Linked DNA regions of Homo sapiens: all the other regions are linked to region 3. The links are contacts of gene promoters, found by promoter capture Hi-C in blood cells and fetal thymus (Javierre and others, 2016). All regions are on one chromosome and are shown on one strand. The core of a region is centred on a gene start or on the middle of the fragment in contact, and the rest is flanking DNA. Distances in the headings are between cores, read along the strand shown. Region 1 overlaps PHTF2 (putative homeodomain transcription factor 2). Region 2 overlaps PHTF2 (putative homeodomain transcription factor 2). Region 3 holds the start of GSAP (gamma-secretase activating protein). Region 4 overlaps RSBN1L (round spermatid basic protein 1 like). Region 5 overlaps PHTF2 (putative homeodomain transcription factor 2). Region 6 overlaps RSBN1L (round spermatid basic protein 1 like). Region 7 overlaps RSBN1L (round spermatid basic protein 1 like).

Region 1 (3,365 bases), core at 225-2,724, 430 kb before region 3:
AAGCCAACTCTAGAAAAGCAATAGGAAAAAAAGAGGCAGACGGACACATCTGATGGTGCTCTGGTCTTGGGATTAAGTAAACCCTGAGAAAAGCTTCACTACTCAGCACGGTTTAGCTTGAAAGCCAATAAATTTCCCCTTTAAGATAGTTTGAGTTAGATTTGTCTTACCTGCGAAAGAATCCAGGAGACTGATGGAGGAAGGATAATATTAAATGACTGCACATGGTTTTGGAGTTGAAAGCTGAGACTTAATACTTTTGAGCCATCTGTGCAATCTTAGGCAAGTTAGTACTCTGAAATGCCCTACACATACTTAAGTACACACACATACACACACACACGTGTGCATGCCCACACACACATTAACATGGCTGAACTTTACCAAAAAGGTGGAAAATTTAAAGTTCCCAACTATTTACAATTGATAGCAGTTACCAGTCAAGTTCATGTTACTCAGGCTAGTTTCTCATTTAAATTACTAAATGAATCCCAAAGCTGGCTCATATTTAAAGGCCATTAAACATATTCATTAGTTTTCTCATTGGCAACTGACTCCTTAAAGACAATGACCAAGATCTGTATCATACAGTTCTTCCTCAGCCCTATAAGCTAAATTCACTGTTTTACTATGACTATACAATGTTGCCAGTGCTTTTTTTCCCTTTTAAATTTGGGGAGTTTTTCTAAGCCACTCTTCTCTTATATATTTACCTAGTGAAAATAGAACCTCATTCTCTCATAATTTTATCTGCACAGTCACAGTGGAATCTTACAGGTCACTATATTGTTTAAAGGAATACTTAGTGTGTCAATTATCTTTCAATACATGTAATTTCAGGTCCCTATTTCAAATAACTTCCAAAAGATAAGTAACTCCATTCCCTCTCCTTGGAAATGAGAAACTAGATATATGAAAGCAGAGTATTTTGCCACAAAACACATTCAACAGCTCATTATTAACTAAAAACTATTCTGGTTTCTCCCCTGTTGTCATTCTTGTTGCATTAACAGTTCCTCCAAGTTAATAACTGAAAATTACTCTGGACCAACAGGAATTTTAAAATTATTCATAACTATGAAGGCTACAATAGGATAAAATGAAGTTTAAAATTGGATATTAAAGGACTTTTAAAATGTCAAAATAAACCATGCATAGAATAATTTATTTAGGCCGGGTGCAATGGCTCATGCCTGTAATCCCAGCACTTTAGGAGGCTACGGTGGGCAAATCGCATGAGGTCAAGATTTCGAGACCAGCCTGGCCAACACAGCAAAACCTCATCACTACTAAAAATACAAAAATTAGCTGGCCGTAGTAGCACCTGCCTGTAATCCCAGCTACTGGGGAGGCTGAGGCAGGAGAATTGCTTGAACCCAAGAGGCAGAGGTTGCTGTGAGCCAAGATCGTACCACTGACTCCAGCCAGGGTGAAAGAGTGAAACTCTGTCTCAACAAAAAAACAAAACAAAAGAATAACTTATTCAAAAATACTTGATAATTAAGTAGAATTTCTGTACGCATTTATAATAATTTCAAAGTTTGTTTTCATTTTCTCCTGGAAATTTCACATCTGATATTAGAGCTCATGTTCAAAAGAGTCTACAAATCAAGTGATGGTTTTTGGCCATTCAGTATTCAAATCATAAATATAAAAACGTCACAATTTTCTAGTGGAGAAAGGTGACTCTAAAGTGAGTTATGGTTGGGCACAGTGGCTCAGGCCTGCAATCCCAGCACTTCGGGAGTCCAAGGCAGGAGGATCGCTTGAGGCCAGAAGTTTGAGACCAGCCTGGGAAACATGGTGAAATCCCGTCAAAAAAATACAAAAGTTAGGTGGGTGTGGTGGCATGAGCCTGTAGTTCCAGCTACTTGGGGGGCTGAGGCAGGAGGATCGTTTGAGCCCAGGAGGTCGAGGCTGCAGTGAGCCGTGTTCACACCACTGCACTTCAGCCTGGGTGACAAAGTGAGACCCTCCCTCAAAAATAAAAAGAAGTGAGTTACTAACCAAACAAATATTCAAGAAAATGAAGATAAATGTTTTTGGTTTTTATTTACAAGGATACTACTCAGTATAAGCTGGATACTATTGAATGATAGTCACAAAATCAAAGAACATTATAATATTAAAACTTTTAAAAATCATATAATCCAGGACTTCTTAACCTGGGTTTTAAGACAGATGTGTTATTTTCTGTATATGTATATTGTATACATTTTTCTCAAAATATGATCCTTGGCTTTCAACACAAAGGGGTCCATGATTGAAAAGAGGCTGAGAACCATTAGCTAGTCAATGTAGAAAAGTGGAAATTGAGACTCAAAGAAATAAAGTTATTCACCTGTGGTTAAATAATCAGTAAGTACAGCTGCAGTTCTCCTGCCTTCATTTCACTGAAGTACAAATGCCTCTAAAAATTTTTTTTAGTAAGCATATATTTAAGAGAAAAACAGATCTGTGTGACCTAAGCCAGTGAGGGGAACCCTCAGGCTAATGATAAAAGAAAATACTAAGATGGCAGCCGGGAGACATGACTTAAGAACAATCTATTCAGTATGGACTAGATGAACAGAGAATTCTAGGAGAGTCAGTTCCAAGAAAGGAAAAAGGGAAGAGATAAACCTGAATATGACTGACTGCAATAAGAGAAGTGTTACAATTTCATCAGAGACTTAGAAAAAGAATTCGTAAAACCAAGCAAAGGGGAAAAAAAGTTACACAGATTGGAAATATTACAACATAACATATCTTTAAATGATACATACACAAACATAATAATGTAAGCACCAAATACTGATTTTACCAAAATTTGGAGTCACTGGGATGATAGAGGGGGGAAACTTAGGGGAAGCTTATAAAAAAGCTAAATCCTAATCATATAGTCAGAAGTCAACAAGTAACATCTACAATAAAATGACCAAGAAAAAACAAGGCAGGCATGCTTCAAAACATGAAATATCATTTTTAAAAATGGTGTTATTCAACAAAGGCTGTCTTAGAGTGTGGGTCAGCAAATCAAGGCCTACAGGTCAAATCTAGACCCTTGCCTGCTTTTGTAAATTAAGTTTTACTGGAACACAGCCATGCTCATTAATTTTATATAGTGTCTATGGCTGCTTTTGTGCTACAATGGCAAGGCAAGGTTGAGTGGTTGCAGCAGAGACCTATGACTCAAAACCTAAATTATTTACTATCTGGCCCTTTAAAGAAAAAGTCAGTCAATCCAATCCTAGTTTAGAATGTTGTACGACATTTTGTATCTCTGACTCCCACCCATAAATGCCAGTATTCCATCAAAAGTTATTAGGATGAGGAGTGGGAGAACTTTGGTTTCAGAACCAATGAGCTATAAAGACTTTAAAATG
Region 2 (3,452 bases), core at 156-2,655, 410 kb before region 3:
CCAGGCACGGTGGCTCAGGCCTGTAATCCCAACACTTTGGTAGGCCAAGATGGGTGGATCACGAGGTCAAGACATCGAGACCATCCTGGCCAACATGGTGAAACCCTATCTCTACTAAAAATACAAAAATTAGCTGGGTGTGGTGGCGTGTGCCTGTAGTCCCAACTACTCGGGAGGCTGAGGCAGAAGAATCCCTTGAACCCGGGAGGCAGAGGTTGCAGAGAGCCAAGATCATGCTACTGCACTCCAGCCTGGCGACAGAGCGAGACTCCGTCTCCAAAAAAAAAGAGAGTAATTTAAGATTTAAATATTTGGCCGGGCGCGGTGGCTCACGCCTGTAATCCCAGCACTTTGGGAGGCCGAGGCGGGTGGATCACGAGGTCAGGAGATTGAGACCATCCTGGCTAACACGGTGAAACCCCGTCTCTACTAAAAATAGAAAAAATTAGCCGGGCGTGGTAGCGGGCGCCTGTAGTCCCAGCTACTCGGGAGGCTGAGGCAGGAGAATGGCGTGAACCCGGGAGGCGGAGCTTGCGGTGAGCCGAGATCGCGCCACTGCACTCCAGCCTGGGCGACAGAGCGAGACTCCGTCTCAAAAAAAAAAAAAAAAAAGATTTAAATATTTTTAATTTCAGAGGGTGACATCAATAAGATGACTGACTAGAGACACCCAGCACTCATCCCCCCAATAAGAAAGAACCTAGGCATCACATAAACAGCTAAGATTCAGCTTGAGTGTCAATGGGAGAGTACTAGGGTGCAGCGAGAAACTGGAGATGCACGTGATGAGATTGGAGGGCAGCATGGAAGTACCTGGCCACTGCAGCCCTGTCTCCCCAACCCAGACTGGATCAGCCCAGAGTCAGGAGGGACTTCCCATTTCAGGGAAAAGGTAAGCAGAAGATCCCTACCAGCCCCCACTGCCACTGCAAACACCTACAATCCTTACTACAGGAGAATCCCACAGTCCTTGCAAGCCCCAAGCCCAGTCTGGAGAGCTGCCAGGAATTCATGCAGCTGCGCTGCCCCAGATTAGGAGCACAGGGTGCACACTCCCCTCCCCCACCCAACCACTCCCTGTGAGAAAAGCTGCTGCAGCATGGTGCCATCTTGAGACCAGAGCCACCTCTGGAGTGCACCCTGCTCTGGAGGTTAGTAGCCAGTGAACTTCTCTAGCACTGGGGCTCCATCTTCATTCCATCACACTCACATGGGTGGCTGAAAACCACAACCCCAACTATGCAAAGCCTGGGCCCAGGATCGGCTGTGACTCCAGTCCTGCACAGCAGGGAAACCAACCTCCCTTCCCCTCTGCTCCCCAACACTCTGCTGCCACTGCCACACTTCCAGTCAGAGGAACAGTCTGGCACTCCCACCTAAGGCAAACCTGCCCTTGAGCCAGAGAAAACTGCTATATGCCCTCCAAGTGGAAGAGTGCCCCCCACGTCTCTAAGCAGCTGATACATCCCTCGGGCTGGCAGAGAGGCTACACATCTGCACTCAGGTCCTGAGACACAGCCCTACAGCACTCCCCCACTGCAGACATGCCCTCAGCTCTCCACCTGCAATCAAGGTCTAAGAAACAGTCCTGTCCCTGGGCACAGCAGGCTGCTCCTGGTAGGCATACCCTCAGCCCATCCAAGCAGCCATGAGCCCATGACTGGACCTGAGTAACATCCCTGTGGGCCACCTCTAGCAAACATATCACTTGTGGGCCTATGGAGGGCTCACTCCTGAGCCACACCCCTGAGCCAGCCAAGCAGCCTTGCATCTGCATCCCAAACCTGAGAAAGTCCTGTGGGCCCCCCCGGTAGACAGATTCATTCCCAGGCTGGCTGAGCAGCCCTGTGCCTGCTCCTGGGCCTATAAACAGCTCCATGTGGGGCATGTCCCACACCAGCCAAGAAGTTGTGAAGCCATGTCAAGGGCCTGAGAAACAGCTCTGAGGGCCATCTATGGTGGACACACTCCTGAGCTCCCCGAGCAGCCTTGTACCCATGTCCCAAACCTGAGAAACAGCCCCACGGGCCATCTACAGCAGATACATACATCCACAGGCCAGCCAAGCAGAAGAGAAGGGAAAAGGTAAGGAAACATATTTAATGAAATAACAGCTGCAAATTTCCCAAATATTGGGAGAGAGATGGACATCTAGGTCCGGGAAGCTCAATGAACCTCAAATAGACGCAACCCAAATAGATCCTCTCCAAGGCAAAATATATTCAAATTGTCAAAAGACAAACACAAAGAAATTCTAAAACCAAGAGAAAACATCAAGTCACATACAATGGAATTCCCATTAGACTAATAACAGATTTCTCAGTAGAAGCCTTACAGGCCAGCAGAGAATGAGATGATATATTCAAAATATTGAAAAGAAAAAAAAAAAACTGCCATCCAAGAATATTATATCCAGCAAAGCTATCTTTCAGAAATGAAGGAGAAATAAAACCTTTCATAGACAGGCAAAAACTCAGTAAATTCATCACCACTAAGCCAGCCTTATAAGAAATGCTCAAGGGAGTCTCACAGTTGGAAGTAAAAGGATGATAACCACCATCATAAAAACATGTGAAACTATAAAACTCACCAGTAGAGTTGATAAAGAAGAAAGAGAAAAGAACCAAATCTTATTACAGAAAACTACCCAACCACAAAAATAAACAATAAGAGAGGAAAAAAGGAAATAGAAAACAAGAAGAAAACAATCAATAAAATGACAGGAGAAGGCCTCACTTATCAATAATCACCTTGAATGTAAACGGATTAAATTCCCCATTTAATCAAAAAGGAGACTTTTCAACAGATACCACAGAAATGCTGAACTATGAACAACTTGGGATGAGTGCAGTGGCTCATGCTTGTAATCCCACTGCTTTGGGAGACTGGGGAGGAAGGATCACTTGATTCCAGGAGTTCAAGACCAGCCTGGGCAACAAAGCAAAACTCTATCTCTAATATACGTATACACAAACACACACACACGCACACACACACATTAGCTGGGAATGGTGGTGCACACCTATAGTCCTAGCCACTCAGAAGGCTGGAGCAGGAGGATTGCTTGAACCCAGAAGTTTGAGGTTACAGTGAGCTATGATCACGCCTGTGCACTCTGGCCTGGGAGACAGTGAGACCCTGTCTAAAAAAACAAAACAGAATAAAACAAAAAAACATACAACTATACACAAATAAATTTGAACACCTAGAGAAACTAGATAAGTTCCTGGACACGTAACACCTACCAAGATTGAACCAGGAAGAAACAGAAAACCTGAACAGACCAATAACAAGTAACCAGATTGAATCAGTAATAAAATGTCTCCCAAGCCGGGTGCGGTGGCTCACGCCTGTAATCCCAGCACTTTGGGAGGCCGAGGAGGGCAGATCATCTGAGGTCGAGAGTTTGAGACCAGCCTGACCAACATGGCGAAACCCAGTCTCTACTAAAA
Region 3 (3,237 bases), core at 111-2,610:
CTTAATTTGAAGAGAATTTTTTATATCATCACTGCTTGACTATAAAATCAGTCCTGCCTGGCAAAAATAGAAGTTAACTGCAAAAATAAAAACAATGGAAATGTACTGACTTTAAAAAATTGGCCAACAGTGTTTCTGTATGACAAAGGCAACAAGCTTATTTGATATGAAATAGTTGCATTAGCTCCTTGGGGGCTCCAGTGGCCTTCCTTTTATTCACTGATAATATTAGCAGCTTCATTAGGCATTTATCTTAAATTTGCATGCACTTCCCGGGTGGGAGGACTTTCCTCTGTATATGGTGGTGAGTAATGGAGTTCTACCTGAAATCATCCATTACCTCAGTTGGAGAAACATGTCTCTAGGAGGGAAAAAAATTCAAGACTTTCTTTTACATTTGGTTGGAGTAGTTTTCAAACTTAGTAAGCCTAAGAATCACCCGAGGCTCTGGGTAAAATGCACGTTTCTGGTCTTGTCCAGGTGTAGAGATCAGGAGTCTGCATTGTAAAATAGTGCCCCAGATGACGTCAATACAAGTAGTTTTCAGACCTTAATTTCGGAAGCATGTGAAAAAGCATTCTTTATTACTGTATTCACTCATTCTTCAGTAATTGTCGAGCACCTTCCAGAGTGCTCTGTTAGACCCTGGTGGGAGGCAGAGGGTTTGCGTGGAGACTTAAGATTCAGTTTTCATGTCTCAAGGCATCAAATGAGATGTACTAGAGTTAAAAGGCAAAAAGGACGCTGTTTGTATCAAGCGCATTAACCCCTTTTAGCGTTTCTCTTACAATGGGATCACCTTCGTCATACGCTCCCAGTTGCTACTCATTACCTTAATAACACTAATAAAGCACCACCACCTCGAAGCTGGGGCGAATAGGCCCAAGAGACGGCCTACTTCTGTGGTGACCCTGAACTGCTCCAGAGGACCCAGCTCTCTCAAGCCAAGTGGTTTCCACACTTTGCTGCACAGTGGAGGCACTTGTAGAATAAAGAAAATAGGCCGACCCTCCAGGTTTGGAAGCCACTGGGCTAGCGGCCTCGCCAAGGCCCTGAAGCGCCCACGTCTTTGCGCCCTCTATCCTCAGCCCCGAAGGTGCGCGCGGAGGCCTCCCGCCCCGGCGGGCCTGGTCCTGGCGCCTGGTCCACCCCGCCCCACCGCTACCCGCCGTGCCCGGCTCCGGCTCCGGCTCAGGTGCGGGCCGCCGGCCGGGAGGAGCTGGTGCCGGAGCTTCTCAGGCCAGGGCGCTGCAGAACCGAAAGCAGCAGGGGGCGGGGGAGAGGAAAGAGGGGGCGGGAGCGGGGACGCGAGGGCGAGGCGGCCACGCGGGGCCGGGAATGCCCGCGGTGCGGGGCCCCAGAGCCGCCCGGTGGTCGTGTCCGGGCGATGGCTCTTCGCCTGGTCGCCGACTTCGACCTCGGGAAGGACGTGCTCCCGTGGTTGCGGGCGCAGCGGGCAGTGTCGGAGGCCAGCGGGGCCGGAAGCGGCGGCGCAGGTGCGGGAGGCGCGCTGCGGAGAGGGGTGGGGGCGGGGAGTGGGAGTCCCTCATACCCCCCGGACTCCGACCCGGTGGGGAGCAACCCGGGGCGTCGCCGCCCTGAGAAGGCTGGTGCGAGGGCGTCGCTCCCCTCCTCAGAGGGCTGTTTTGGCTTTGCCACCCACACCCAGCCACGGCGGAAGGTCTGGGGGCAGAGCCCGGGCCAGGTCGCCGTGGGGCCTGAGGCGCCTGGCTCGCTGCCGGCCCGCGGAAATTCGCCCTTGGCAGAGGGGCCGGGCCGCTGGCGGTTCCCTCAGCATCACCTCACGGCGAGGGCAGAGGGTCGTGCTCAGCTCAGCGGCCGCATCCCACCTCCCGGGGGGTTCATCGGCAGCGCAGGGGCTTTGCCAAGACAGGAGTGCTCCTGGAAGCTTCACGTTTTGAGAAAGAATCCGTGACCACCAAGCAAACCACCCTATACCTAACGGTGGAACAGTTTGTCCCCACATTTGCGAGACGTGTTTATGTGTCTGTTGAACCGTGTCCGTGGCTCAGGGGACATGGGCCTCGGCGGTGAGGCGCAAGAGGGCAGGGGCCGCCTCCAGGCTGCGCGCGGCGGGGCGAGAGCCCCCAGCCGCCCCCGAGCTCCGCACCTGTGCAGGCTGGGGCTGCGCGCGAGATGCTCGGCTCCCGGCCCTGCCACTCCGGGCTTTTTGATGATTTGGTAAGGGAGTGAAAGTGACTTTTGAGCCTTCCCAGCACTGATCTGTTTTAAAGAAGGGGAACTTTGTGATTTCTTACAAAGTTTTAAAAGTCTTCTATAAATATTGGAGCTTCAGAGCTTAAATGCAGCTTCAAAGCAATGATGCCTGTAGGTCTCACCTTGTGTGTAGGGCGCTGTCCACTTCAGTGAATTTGGAAGTGGGTATTAAATGACCCACATCTACAACTCCTTTCCCTTAAACGCTGGTGAAAGTTTTCTTGATGTGAGTTATATATCAAGTTGCTATCTTGTATCTTCACACTCTCCTATGACTATAGCGAAATTATTTGTAGGTTTCCTTGGCTTGGAATATTATTAGCTCCAAATAAGGAGTTATATGTTTGTGTAGCGTATGCATTGAGTTTGCATTAGTGTCATGCTTAGTAAGGCTTTACTTTTTTTCGAGGTGGAGAGGGTGGTCAAGGAAGAATTTTATACAAAAATTAGCTGGGCGTGGTGACACGCTCCTGTAATCCCAGCTACTCGGGAGGCTGAGGCAGGAGAATCGCTTGAACCTGGGAGGCAGAGGTTGCAGTGAGCCGAGATCTCGCCACTGCACTCCAGCCTGGGCAACAGAGTAAGTCTCCGTCTCAAAAAAAAAAAAAAAAAAAAAAAAAAAAAAAGTCGCCCACATGTCTGAAAAGTTTTTGAAGGCTTAACTTTTTGAAATACAACAGGCAGCTCTGTCTTCTACTACCAAGTACTCCTTTTTCTGGACTCCCACTTTATTTTGCTAAATGGCAGGTGTCTGCAAATGAGAAGTTAGATGAGTGTGAAATGCCACAGTCTTATGTTTCCGTAATGTGTGTCGTGCTTGAAAAGCTGTGTGTGACCCACTGGGACCTGGCTTCCTTGTATCTTTCGCTCATCTCTGAAGAAATATAAACTTGTGTATTGACCTTCCACTAAACAACAGATAGCTCTAGGTCCTCAGAAGGTACTTTCTGGAAATACTAGCTTTTCTGATACTGGTAGTATTTTGCTCTTTCAGAGCAA
Region 4 (3,189 bases), core at 388-2,887, 300 kb before region 3:
TATCTCAAGGCAAGAAACAGAAAGTTCTCCTCTTTGTATCTCCCTTTCTTCCACCACCACCCAAGCACAAAGCGGGCCATAAATAAGTGTTAAATCCACATAAGAAAAAAAGCAGTAGGCTGGGCACGGTGGCTCACCGCTGTAATCCCAGCACTTTGGCATGCCGAGGCAGGCAGATCACTTGAGGTCATATGACCAAAATGGTGAAACCCCATCTCTACTAAAAATACAAAATGTAGCCGGGCAAGGTCGCCCACGCCTGTAATTCCAGCTACTCAGGAGGCTGAGGGATGAGAACCTGGGAGGCTGATGCTGCAGTGAGCCAGGATCACACCACTGCACTCGAGCCTGGGTGACAGAGTGAGACTCTGTCTCAAAAAAAAAAAAAAAAAAAAGAAAAAGAAAATGAAAAAGAAAGAAACCCCAAATGTATTGTGATATAATAGAAATAATTCAGGCTTTGTAATTATACATATTAAGCTCAAATTCTAGCTCTGCCAATAACTGATCAAGTGACATGAAGCAAGTTACTTAACCGTGTTGTGCCTCAGTAATCTCATCTGTATAGATAATAACACTTGTCTTCTGCAATTTTTTTTTTAACGGAGTTTCGCTCTTGTTGCCCAGGCTGGAGTGCAATGGCACGATCTCAGCTCACCGCAACCTCTGCCTCCCGGGTTCAAGCGATTCTCTGCCTCAGCCTCCCGAGTAGCTGGGATTACGGGCATGCAGCACCACGCCCAGCTAATTTTGTATTTTTAGTAGACCCGGGGTTTCTCCATGTTGGTCAGTCTGGTCTTGAACTCCCAACCTCAGGTGATCCACCCACCTTGGCCTCCCAAAGTGCTAAGATTATAGGCACGAGCCACCACGCCCAGCCTTTTACAATTTTTATAACAAGGCAACATATGCATTATTTCCAACACTATGCACAATACCTAATTTTAAGCACTGGACAAATGTAGCTATTATTATTAAATATAAACAGAATTTTATTACAAAAGCACCCAGTAACAAAGAGTTACAAAAATACTACAATAACAATAGTCACAAGAACACACAAAGAGTAAGAGGAAAATAAAAAAGGACACATACAGCTGGGAACAGTGGCTCACACCTGCAATCCCAGCACTTTGGAGGACAAGGTGGGAGGATGGCTTGAGGCCAGGAGTTCAAGGCCAGCCTGGACAATATGGCGAGACCCTTTCTCTACGGAAAATACAATAATTAGCCAGGCACAGTGGTGCGCACCTATAGTACTGGCTACTCAGAAGGCTCAGTCAGATGGATCACTTGAGCCCAGGAGTCTGAGGCTGCAGTGAGCCATGATCACACCACTGCACTCCAACCTGAGCAACAGAGTGAGACCTTGTCTCTAAAAAAAATTTTTTTAAATACATATATACATAAAAACCATGCCAGGCATAACATGATAAAGTGGCCTGTGAAAAATTTTAGCTCAGGTTTTCCTCACTAAACTATCAGAAAAGATTGGTCTCCAGAGCAGAAATAAAAGCATTTCGTCTGTTCTCAACATATTATAAAACCAAGATATGAAGTACTAAGATATTGTAGGTGGTATCTGGTTACAGAATTAAATCACTTTAAATCACTGAATCGTGTGTCTATAGCTACTATATCAAACGTGATTGTTTCACATATATACAACCTGGGGCATTCTTAGACCTCTAAGTCCACATTATACAATTACATTATTTATTACAATTTAAATTATACTCTGTAATGCAAATGGTAAATCATATACATAGTTCTTAATGATAACAATATGTGTGGGCATATGTAACTATGGGAACCAGACTCTCGTTGTACTTGTTATATACTCTTAGTTACACTTTTTCACACAACCAATTAAAGTTCTACATTTTTTAAAAGTTGTATATTTAGCTAACATCATTAGATACACACCTACAGATGCTTTATCAATCTTAATTCAATTGGAATGTGCTCCAAGTGAAATTTTCCAAAACACACATACATTATGTGCCCTAATGTATGTGCAGTGAGAAATTGGTTCAGACTTCCAAAGCTAAGTCATAAGAAGACTTGCTGTTTCCACCTATGTCGCTGGGTGTCAAGACTCTTGGAGTCCTGAGCTGCCACGTAAGAAATCCAACTTCCTAATTAACAGACCATGTGGAATGGTCCTGAAACAACTTGGAGAAAGAGAAGGGTTCACTCAGTTCAGTATCTAGCCATACATAACACAGCAACAGGCACGTGAGTAAAGTCATCTTGGACCTTCCATACCAGACCAGCCACCAACTCAACACCAATGAGCAACTCCAGTCAACACTGCGTGAAGCAGAGGAAATCACCCAGCCAATCATGCCAGAATTTGTGATTCACAAAATCATCTGATATAATAAAATGGTTATTGTTTCAAACCACAAAATTTTAGGGCAGTTTGTTATGCATTAAGAGATAATTCAGCCTTCACAAAGTCTTATTATAGATAATGAAAAAGTTGTTTTGTTTAAGTATATACAAGACATGCACTGACTCTAGAAAAATGTTAAAGTAGAAAACTGTCTTACAAAATACACTGATGGGCCAGGTGCGGTGGCTCACACCTGTAATCTAGCACTTTGAGAGGCCGGGGCAGGCAGATTGCTTGAACCCAGGAGTTTGAGACCAGCCTGGCAAACATGATAAAACCTCATCTCTATAAAAAATACAAAAAAATTAGCCAGGTGTGGTCGTGCACTTGTAGTCCCAGTTACTCAGGAGACTGAGGTGGGAGGATCAACTGAGCCCAGAAGTTGAAGCCGTGATTGCACCAGTGCCTACCAGCCTAGGCAACAGTGAGACTCAGTCTCAAAAAACATAAAACAAAATACACTGATATATTAAAATCAAGAAGTGAAGGGCTAAAAGAAAAAAGGCTTAATATATAATGTCAGAGCTATAAACACAATCAAACGCCTTGAAATTATTTCCTCCCATAACTTCTGTGACATTGTAGAGCTCGCTTTTCCTATCTAGCTGCCATGAATATTAGTTCATATAATGTTCTCTCTCCCCACAACTCCTTTATCTCTTTGCTGAAATCCTACCATACTGCCCTTTCAAAGTTTCTCTCAAATATCTCCTCTCCTACATCTCTTCTCCCTTTCTTTTCTGAGACACAGTCTCGCTCTGTCGCCCCGACTGGAGTGCAGCAGCACGATC
Region 5 (3,189 bases), core at 548-3,047, 450 kb before region 3:
CAATTTTATTACTTCTTTCACATATAAAAGGCTAAATGCCATCCAAGGAGACTGGGAAGTTTCCACCAAGGTACTTTATATAGAATGGGGGGAAAAAAGGAAATGTTTCTTAACATTAATGGGTATATTTATGATATCCTCTCATCTGTATTAACTACTTTATAAAAGGTACTGGGCATGATTTGCCCCCTAGAATACAACTTGCTTTAAAGTTCTGCCAACTTTGTAAATTCCTTAAACAGGGATTCATCAATCTACTAAAACAAAAGATCGTATGTAAAGGAGAACTGCACAGATGTTTTACAGCATCAAGCTGTAGATTAAGTATTTACTTTATTACACTGTCTATCACCCAATCTAAGATGATGTCAGGAGAAAAAAATGAAAGCTCTCACATACTCTTGTCAACTGCTATCTACTATTAGATAATTTTTTCCTATGATACACCAGAACTCCTTAGCTGCGCCCTTTCCCCCACCTTGGATAGAAAGTCCAACCACAGTTACTGAAGTATACTAATGTCTCTGCTTTTTACTCCTCAAATGCCAGTTGAGGCAGTTAATGTTCACAATATTACAATAACAGCAATAATAAGTAGTCAGCATTTATCAAGTGCTGATACCCCTTCCACGTATTAACTTATTTAATTCTCACAGCACTATTAAGTAGGTATTACAGCTATCTCTATGTTTACAGTATAAAGACTTAGGCTGTACAAGGTTAAATAGTAGCAATAAACAGGAATTCAAACACAGACAACCTGGCTCCATAGCTGTGCTCTTACCCACCAGTAATTTCATTAATATCCATCCACAAAAACGACCCTACGTTCACTTGCCTTGGTTCTGATCACTAAGAGATGTCTGGGAAGGGTTACATTTAATCCCTAATCATTGTCATATACTTCTCCCTGTATTACCTTCTGTGGGCTATCTTGCCAGCAGGCAAGCTGTCAGGGCTTATTTAAAAAGCAAATAAAAATACACAAAACTCTTCAAGAAGTCCAACTTAGCCTTAACAACATGTAAAATAATTAGTATTATTAATCAAAGGGTAATTATAAGGACTAAATGTACTAATATGTATGGAGCAAACAACAGGAACAGACATGCAAAAGCTCAATAATTAACCATTATGTCATCTGGCTATTACCTAATGCTTCCTTTTCCTTCATATTGCAGCATGTGACAAGGAAAGAATGTATATGCCTATTTGCATTCTTTTACTACTCATCATAGCATATACTCTGGTTTATCATTCTAAAACATAACCCTGACTAAATCATGTGTACAAAATATAAATCAAGGCTACAGCACCATCCTTGTTTACATATTTCTAATAGTTTACTATAACAAGAAAAGCTATGTCATATTTTAAGGCAATTTAAATGCCAAAAATATTAACATAACTTGGTTACTTATTTTAAAAATACCTAACATATTATTGCTATTCATTCATTTGAAATCAAATAAGAGACCATTAAAGAGAACAATCTTATGCTGTACAGACCAGTATTAACTTTTTTTTTTTACTGACGAGACAATTGAGGCTTTAAGAGACGTCAGGTTTTACAGATGGTAAAACCCAGCTTCTGACTTCCAATTCCATGCCCTTTCCACTGCACCACACTCTTTTACGTAACTTGTTAACCACAGGCCAGTATTTTCCTAAGTATGTTCAACAGATACTCAGGGGAAAAAATTAAGTCAAATAAATTGAGAAATGATATTTTCTCTGTCTGCCTCTTAGACAGTCAACTGCACATTATTTGCACTGGAAAATCCTGAAATCATATAACTTGTTTGCCTGTGTCTCACTCAATATTTCCCAAACTGATTTGACTACAAAATCCTTTTATTCTCCTAATACTTATTAACATCATGTAGAGCACACTTCAGGAAATGTTACTACAGAATAAACTATTACGTTTAATAATTTTTTTTTTTTTTTTTTTTGGAGAGGTAGTCTCGCTCTGTCATCCAGGCAGGAGTGTGGTGGTGTGATCTTGACTCACTGCAACCTCTGCCTCCCAAGTTCAAGTGATTCTCCTGCCTCGGCCTCCCAAATAGCTGGGACTACAGGTGTGCACCACCATGCCTGACTAATTTTTGTATTTTTAGTAGAGACATGGTTTCACCATATTGGCCAGGCTGGTCTTGAACTCCTGACCTCAAGAGATCTGCCCGCCTTCGCCTCCCAAAGTACTGGGATTACAGGCATGAGCCACCGAGCCCAGCCTAATACTTAATGTAATAATCAGTATAAAGAGCCTATTTCACAGATTTGACAACTCAAATCAAGTCCCTTGAAATAAGTGCCTGGCTTGATACATGGCACATCAAAGGTACTTAATTTAAGAATAAAAAACTATATAAATTAGAAGTTTAATATAAATACTGTCTCCTGACAGCACTGTTATCAAAGCAGTAAACATTTACCAAGTACCAAGTATACAGTAAGACCCTGAAATAATGGCGATATAAAGATAATGATTCTTACTCTCATGGATTAGCAGGGGAGATTAATTATCAAGTCAGGCTGTAATAAGCAGTAGAATAAACAAAATACCACTGTAATACAGAAGTAGAATAATAATTGATATTATAAAAGAGATTGGCTGGGTGACATGGCTCACATCTATAATGCCAGCACTTTAGGAGGCTGCGCTGGGTGGAACATGAGGTCAGGAGTTTGAGACCAAGCCTGACTAACATGGTGAAACCCCGTCTCTACTAAAAATACAAAAATTAGCCAGGCATGGTGACGCATGCCTGTAGTCCCAGCTACTCAGGGGGCTGAGGCAGGAGAATCGCTTGAACCCGGGAAGCAGAGGTTGCAGTGAGCTGAGATCGTGCCACTGCACTCCAGCCTGGGCAACAGAGCGAGACTCTGTCTAAAAAAAAAAAGAAAAAAGAGGAGATTCCCAGGTAATTATTGTTAAATGGAGCAGAATGAATTTAGCTTATATGGAACATCTCAGAATGTTTATATCTAGGATGGTAAAAGAGGATCAAGATCTCTCTGTAGCTTTCCCTGTCTCCATGCAGAAACAATTGCTCCCATTTCAAATTTTTTTCCTCAGTGAATACTATCATACTACTAGGGTCATGTCAAAAAGATTCAGAAGCCAACCTAAATAAGCTCCTATTATTAAGACAGAACAATCTGTCTGACAATGGGAAAGACATT
Region 6 (3,441 bases), core at 338-2,837, 290 kb before region 3:
CAAAAATAAATAAATTAATGGAGGAGCGGAGGTGAAAAAAACTGTTGAAGTAGCATAATGGGTACACCCAGAATTCAATGTATACTGGTTTCTTTTGTATTAATTTAAAATCTTATGATTAAAAAGTTAAACTTTTCAATCTGTAATTCAAGAAAAAATAAAACATACAACATAAAGTTTAATGTATACTCAAAAATAAAAATGTTTTGAAGTTTTAAGTTTATCATTATTTTTCAATATCCTATTTTAGGTAGTTTATCCATTACTTGAAAAGTTTAATTCATTTGAGATTGGTGAAAAATTAATGAGATTTATTATAATCAACTTAAAACTTCTGAAATACAAACTTCTTTCAAAAAGTTAGTATTGTTCATTCTAACATATCAGATGGTCTCAGAAACCAGGACACCATGAGAAAATTAGACAAATTATACTTACTTGTGAATTCAGTGAAACTACATGTCTCCAATGCGTTAGGTATGAAAGAAAGGTCAGGAACTAGCATCCCTTATGAATGCCTAACAATATGCCAGGTTCTACAATATACCATGTTCACATAATTCTAACAATCACCCTGTGAAAATATCATCCCTTTATAACGGATGTATATCAGCTCAAAAAGAGTAAGTGTATCGGGGCGTGGTTGCACACCTGTAGTCCTAGCTACTGGGGAGGGTGAAGCAGGAGAATCCTTTGGGCTCAGGAGTTCAAGGTTACATTGAGCTATGATTGTGCCACTGCATTCCAACCTGGGCAACAGAGCAAGATTCCTGTCTCTTAAAAATATACCCAAATAGGCCGAGCGCGGTGGCTCACGCCTGTAATCCTAGCACTTTGGGAGGCCGAGGCAGGCAGATCACCTGAGGTTAGGAGTTCGAGACCAGCCTGGCCAACATAGTGAAACCCCTTCTCTACAAAAATACAAAAATTAGCTGGGCATGTTGGTGGGCACCTGTAGTTCCAGCTACTTGGGAGGCTGAGGCAGGAGAATCGCTTGAACTTGGGAGGCAGAGGTTGCAATGAGCAAGATTGTGCCACTGCACTCCAGCCTGGGTGAAATAGTGAGAGTCCTTCTCAAAAAAAAAAAAAAAAAAAAAAAAAAAAAACCCAAACAGTAGGAAAAAAGAGACACACACACACTCCACGTCTGACATAACTAGGAGATACTGTAACTATTACCTGAAATACAATGTATAAAGACAAAAAGCTGATGGTAGAATGGTAAATGCCTTAGCATAATGGGAGAGATAATGACAAACAATCCTCTTTATCCTGCAATACCCCAGAAAAGCTCAGAAATCAGAGGGCGCTAGGAAATAGGGCAGAATACCCACAAACACACACTCCTAAGGAAACAAGAGGTATGGTCCTCAGTAAAACTGAATCAGAGTGGCTCCAAGATGAGGGGTATCCCTCACAGAAAAGAGAAGTGAAATGCTGGTATGAAAACAGGGAGACTAGGTAAAAACTTATGAAATGAATGACAAGACTTGTAGCTTTCTTCCCCCATGAAGCGCTAGAACCCTGTCATACAAACTCATTACCTCTGCCAAGCCCTTCACTATGGACTGAATCATGCCTCCCCAAAATCCATATGTTGAAGCCTTAATGCCCAATGTGACTGTATCTGAAAATAAGGCTTTTCGGAGGTAACTAAGATTAAATGAGGTCAAAGGGCACAGTCCCAATCCAATAAAATTGGTAGCTTTATAAAGAGAAAAGGAAGAGATTTTTCTTTCCATTATAGGAAAAGTCATGTGAGCACACAGGAAGAAGGCAGTCACCTACAGACCAGGAAAAGAGCCCTTACCAGAACCTGGCCATGATGGCATGCTGACCTCACGCTTCCAGCCACCAGAATTATAAAAAAATTAATTTCTGTTAAGTCACCCATTCTATGGTATTTTATTATAGCAGCCCGAGTGACTAAGACACCCCTCCTCTCTCCATCATTCCACCCACAAAGAGACAGGAAAATTAAAGGACATCTATCTGAAGAAACTGAAAGCCTTCTTGCCCACCACCCAGAGAAAAGAAATGAAGATTAAAAACACAGCAGTCCATTAGTCATTAACCTTGCTCATGATCACAAAGATCTGAACAAAACCTCCAACTAAAAGAAAGCAACCAAAACAAACAGAAATAAGTAAGAAAAACCAAAAATAATAGGGAGAACAGAAGAACACCTCAAAGAAGCTGTAATTAATATCCTTGAAGAGGAAACAGAAAACGTTGCACCCATGAAAAAGGAACAAAATACTATAATACTGAAACAAAGGACAGGAGCTCTTAAAAATTCTTATTAAAGGCTTAAACTTTTCCAGGCGCAGTGGCTCACACCTGTAATACCAGCACTTTGGGAGGCCAAGGCGGGTGGATCATGAGGTCAGGAGTTGGAGACCAGCCTGGCCAACACAGTGAAACCCTATCTCTACTCAAAAATACAAAAAATTAGCTGGGTGTGGTGGTGTGCGCCTGTAGTCCCAGCTACTCAGGAGGCTGAGGCAGGAGAATCATGCGAACCTGGGAGGCAGAGGTTGCAGGGAGCCAAAACTGCATTGCACTCCAGCCTGGGCGACAGTACAAGACCGTCTCAAAAAAACAAAAGCTAAAACTTTAAAATTCAGTCAAGGCCAGCCACGGTGGCTCACGCCTATAACCCCAGCACTTTGGGAGGCCAAGGCAGACAGACCATCTGAGGCCAGGAGTTCCAGACCATCCCGGCCAACATGGAGGAACCCCATCTCTACTAAAAATACAAAAAATTAGCTGGGCGTGGTGGCGCACACCTGTAATACCAGCTACTTGGGAGGCTGAGGCAGGAGAATTGCTTGAACCCAGGAGGCAGAGACTGCAGTGAGCCAAGATCATGCCACTGCACTCCAGCCTAGGCAACAGAGCAAGACTCCATCTCAAAAAAAAAAAAAAAAGTAAAATTCAGTGAAAGTTCAGAAGGAAGAGTGAGATGTGAAGAAAAACACCAAAGAAAAAAATATATAAATTATAAAATTCAGTGAAAGGATTGACATTCCCCAGATAGTAGAATAGACAACTTTTTGGAGATCAGACGTCTTAACATCTACTTTGGGAACCAGGCAATAAGGGAACACCACCTTCAAACTTTTGAGGGAAAATTATTTCCAATGCAGAAATCTCTTAACTGCCAGTCAAGTAAAAGGATAAAAATGAAATCCAAAATGAAAATCCAAAATGAAGGAAGAAACCAAAAGGAAGGCATGAGATCCGGAAAAATAAAATTCAACAAAAGTTAAAGAAATTCCCAGAATGTCAACTAAGGAAAGTCCCAAGGTGACAGCTATGCAGCAGGCCTAAAGAGGAAACAACCCAGGCTAAAGCAGTAAGGACAGCTACAGAAGGGATGTCGTTTTTTTTTGTTGTTGTTGTTGTTGTTGTTTTTTTTTTTTTTTTTTTGAGCCAGAG
Region 7 (3,003 bases), core at 351-2,850, 320 kb before region 3:
TTTCCAGTCAGAAAAAACTTGACAGGCCGGACGCAGTGGCTCATGCCTATAATCCCAGCACTTTGGGAGGCCGGGTCAGGCAGGCTGCCTGACCTCAGGAGTTCGCCATCAGCCTGGGCAACATGGTGAAACCCTGTCTCTACTAAAATACAAAAAATTAGCCCTAGGCATGGCGGCGTGCGGCTGTAATCCCAGCTACTCAGGAGGCTGGGGCAGGAAAACTGCTTGAACCCAGGAGGCAGAGTTTGCAGTGAGCCGAGATCGCGCCACTGCACTCCAGCCTGGATGACAGAGCAAGACTCCTCTCAAAAAAAAAAAAAAAAAAAAAAAAAAAAAGACACATTTTTTTTTTTTTTTTTTTTTTCCTGAGACCAAGTCTTGCTCTGTCACCCAGGCTGGAGTGCAGTGGCACAATCTCGGCTGCAGCCTTTGCCTCCTGGGTTCAAGCAATTCTCCTGCCTCAGCCTCACGAGTAGCTGGGATTACAGACGAGCGCCACCACGCCCGGCTAATTTTTCTATTTTTAGTAGAGATGGGGTTTCACCAGGTTGGCCAAGCTGGTCTCAAACTCCTAGCTTCAAGTGGCCCACCCGCCTTGGCCTCCCAAAGTGCTGGGATTACAGGCGTGAGACACTGCGCCCAGCCTACCTGACACAATTTTTAAGAAAAACCTGGAGAAAATGAATTGGTGTGACATACTTGACATCTATTTTAGATTTTCAAATGCCATCATCCATCAACACCTGTGTATACCACAGCTTGCAACATTATCATTAACAGAAGAAAAAAATTACAAGGATAGAATAAAAGTTGGAGGCCACAAGGAAAAAAGTGGCACACAGTAGTAAATGAAAGTATATTTTCCCTCAGCAAAGTAAATGATTTGTTGTTCCAAGTCACCAACAACAAAAGATGCCTTTCCCTACCACCACCACAGGCTCACTTGGGAAATGGCCCCACATACTAAGCAAATTCTTTCTCGTAGATAGTAACAACAGATAACACTCAGTGCTTTCAATGCGACAAGCACTGTTTTCCCAATGAATCATGTGTTTATTCACTTAATTATCTATGTACTACACACTGAGGAGAGGAGATAGTTTGGTTTTATTGGTGTTTTTTGTTTTTTGTTTTTTTGAGATGGAGTCTCTCTCTGTTGCCCAGGCTGGAGTGCAGTGGCACCATCTTGGCTCACCGCAACCTCCGCCTCCTGGGTTCAAGCGATTCACATGCCTCAGCCTCCCGAGTTGCTGGGATTACAGGCACCCACCGTAATTTTTTGTATTTTTTAGTAGAGATGGGGTTTCACCAACTTGGCCAGGCTGGTCTTGAACTCTTGACCTCAGGTGATCCACCTGCCTCGGCCTCCCAAAATGCTGGGATTACAGGCTTCAGCCACTGTGCCTGGCCAATTTTGTTGCTTTTTAATCACAAAGTTAATCTCTCATACATACTTACAAGAAAGATTTCATAACTATTTACTACTCAGTAGTAAGTACCTGTGAGCCAGATTCTATACTTGGCACTTTCCTCATACTTTCCCTCATTTAATCTTGGTAACACTGTAAGGCAGTAATTAAATTATTACTTACCTCCACTGTGAATACATTTTCCCTAAATTTTTCCATGGACATCCCAGAAGTCACAAATTAATTTCCACATCTATCTCATTCTTTTACCTTAATCATCACTAGTTTCAGTTTAACTCGGTTCAAAATATCACCTAAATTTTTGTCTACTTCAAAGTTAATATCGTATATTTCATTTTTTAAAAATCTCAATTTTTAGGCTGTTTTAAATTTTATTTTCATGTGTAATCTCTGGATTCACATAATTCACATTATGTTAGGAATCCAGTATTCAATCAAGAACATATGAGGCTTTTATAAAGTATTTCTAAAACAGATTCCTTCTCAAGTAATAGAATTTACAGCATGATATTTTCAAATGAATAAGAAAACTATTTGATTAAATCAGAAAAAAAAATGGCTATTGGGCTAAACCAAGGGTAAAGTTAAGTAGACTTGACTTTTTCTTTTCTTTTTTTTTTTTTGAGACTGAATCTCACTCTATTGCCCAGGCTGGAGTACAGTGGGGTGATCTCAGCTCACTGCAACCTCTTGTCTCCCGGGTTCAGGCAATTCTCATGCCTCAGCCTCCCCAGTAGCTGGGATTACAGATGTCCACCATCATGCCCCACTAATTTTTCATTTTTAGTAGAGACGAGGTTTCACCACATCGGCCAGGCTGGTCTCAAACTCCTGACCTCAAGTGATCCACCCGCCTCGGCCTCCCAAATTGCTGGGATTACAGGCATGAGCGACCGAACCTGGCCTTAAGCAGACTTTTCAAGCATTCATCACTAGCTGCTATAAATAACTAGTGTGGTTATATTCAATTCCTGCCTCAAAGGCTTACAATCTAATTAGACAACACAGATAGAATATGCAGGCAAAAGAAACAGAACAAAAGGATCATGAGCATTAACTAATAAGCAGCCATCAACTTAAGCTCTGACGTATTTCTTCAAGGTTGAAAGAATATCGTAGAAAATGAAGTTCTGACATGTAGATAATAGAAAACGAATATCTGAAAACATGACAAAGAATGCAATGAAAATACAGAATCTAATACTCTTTATCTTAGATAATATAAACTACCAGTTATTTTGCTACATATGCAGTGTCGTGGTCTTTCCCCCTCAAGCAAATATAAAGCCTTATCAACAATTAAATTCAATATGAAGTTAATCAAGGTCAACATATTCTCATCATCAACTATCAACATGATAGCACTAGTAAATTTGCTAGCTAGTGAATTCGCTAGTTGTCTAGCAACCGAATGCCACGGATTCTTCTTACCTTGACATCTGAGTGAATTTAAGACTATCCTTACGTCTATTCTACCACAAATTCTCTCTTTACAAGTTCAGACTTATTGACAGGATTTGCAGTATACTTATTACCCAACCACCTACCCCCCAAATTCTTCTCTCCACCCCAC

The links. Contacts are between HindIII fragments. The CHiCAGO score rates a contact against its expected background, and 5 or more counts as called.
Region 1: a contact is called between a fragment that was not itself captured here and the fragment with the promoter of GSAP in region 3, in 1 of 17 cell types (total B cells). The highest score is 6.6, in total B cells.
Region 2: a contact is called between a fragment that was not itself captured here and the fragment with the promoter of GSAP in region 3, in 1 of 17 cell types (total B cells). The highest score is 5.1, in total B cells.
Region 4: a fragment that was not itself captured here is called in contact with the fragment with the promoter of GSAP in region 3 in 1 of 17 cell types (neutrophils); the score reaches 7.4 in neutrophils.
Region 5: a contact is called between a fragment that was not itself captured here and the fragment with the promoter of GSAP in region 3, in 1 of 17 cell types (total B cells). The highest score is 5.3, in total B cells.
Region 6: a fragment that was not itself captured here is called in contact with the fragment with the promoter of GSAP in region 3 in 6 of 17 cell types (total B cells, neutrophils, monocytes and 3 more); the score reaches 7.9 in total B cells.
Region 7: a fragment that was not itself captured here is called in contact with the fragment with the promoter of GSAP in region 3 in 12 of 17 cell types (monocytes, neutrophils, M2 macrophages and 9 more); the score reaches 13.9 in monocytes.

Annotation. Positions count from the first base shown.
Region 1 is chr7:77,842,631-77,845,995 of GRCh38, reverse strand. The region is part of intron 2 of PHTF2 (putative homeodomain transcription factor 2); the gene reads right to left. Among named protein-coding and RNA genes, the nearest start is that of PHTF2, 46 kb to the right of the region's middle. The HindIII fragment of the contact is 2,758 bases long and covers 96-2,853 here.
Region 2 is chr7:77,820,065-77,823,516 of GRCh38, reverse strand. The region is part of intron 1 of PHTF2 (putative homeodomain transcription factor 2); the gene reads right to left. Among named protein-coding and RNA genes, the nearest start is that of PHTF2, 23 kb to the right of the region's middle. The HindIII fragment of the contact is 7,723 bases long and covers 1-3,452 here.
Region 3 is chr7:77,414,472-77,417,708 of GRCh38, reverse strand. It overlaps GSAP (gamma-secretase activating protein), which reads left to right and starts at 1,360. Exons shown (of 31, transcript NM_017439.4): 1 at 1,360-1,496. The coding sequence starts at 1,388. LOC101927243 (a long non-coding RNA gene) reads right to left here and starts at 2,511. Exons shown (of 5, transcript NR_110073.1): 1 at 2,361-2,511. RefSeq lists silencers at 1,065-1,414, 1,635-1,844, 1,905-2,194. The HindIII fragment of the contact is 1,753 bases long and covers 159-1,911 here.
Region 4 is chr7:77,717,970-77,721,158 of GRCh38, reverse strand. All of the region lies in intron 1 of RSBN1L (round spermatid basic protein 1 like), which reads right to left. Among named protein-coding and RNA genes, the nearest start is that of RSBN1L, 23 kb to the right of the region's middle. The HindIII fragment of the contact is 6,731 bases long and covers 1-3,189 here.
Region 5 is chr7:77,864,951-77,868,139 of GRCh38, reverse strand. All of the region lies in intron 2 of PHTF2 (putative homeodomain transcription factor 2), which reads right to left. Among named protein-coding and RNA genes, the nearest start is that of PHTF2, 68 kb to the right of the region's middle. The HindIII fragment of the contact is 7,462 bases long and covers 1-3,189 here.
Region 6 is chr7:77,701,143-77,704,583 of GRCh38, reverse strand. The region is part of intron 1 of RSBN1L (round spermatid basic protein 1 like); the gene reads right to left. Among named protein-coding and RNA genes, the nearest start is that of RSBN1L, 6.4 kb to the right of the region's middle. The HindIII fragment of the contact is 9,574 bases long and covers 1-3,441 here.
Region 7 is chr7:77,737,073-77,740,075 of GRCh38, reverse strand. All of the region lies in intron 2 of RSBN1L (round spermatid basic protein 1 like), which reads right to left. Among named protein-coding and RNA genes, the nearest start is that of RSBN1L, 42 kb to the right of the region's middle. The HindIII fragment of the contact is 3,463 bases long and covers 1-3,003 here.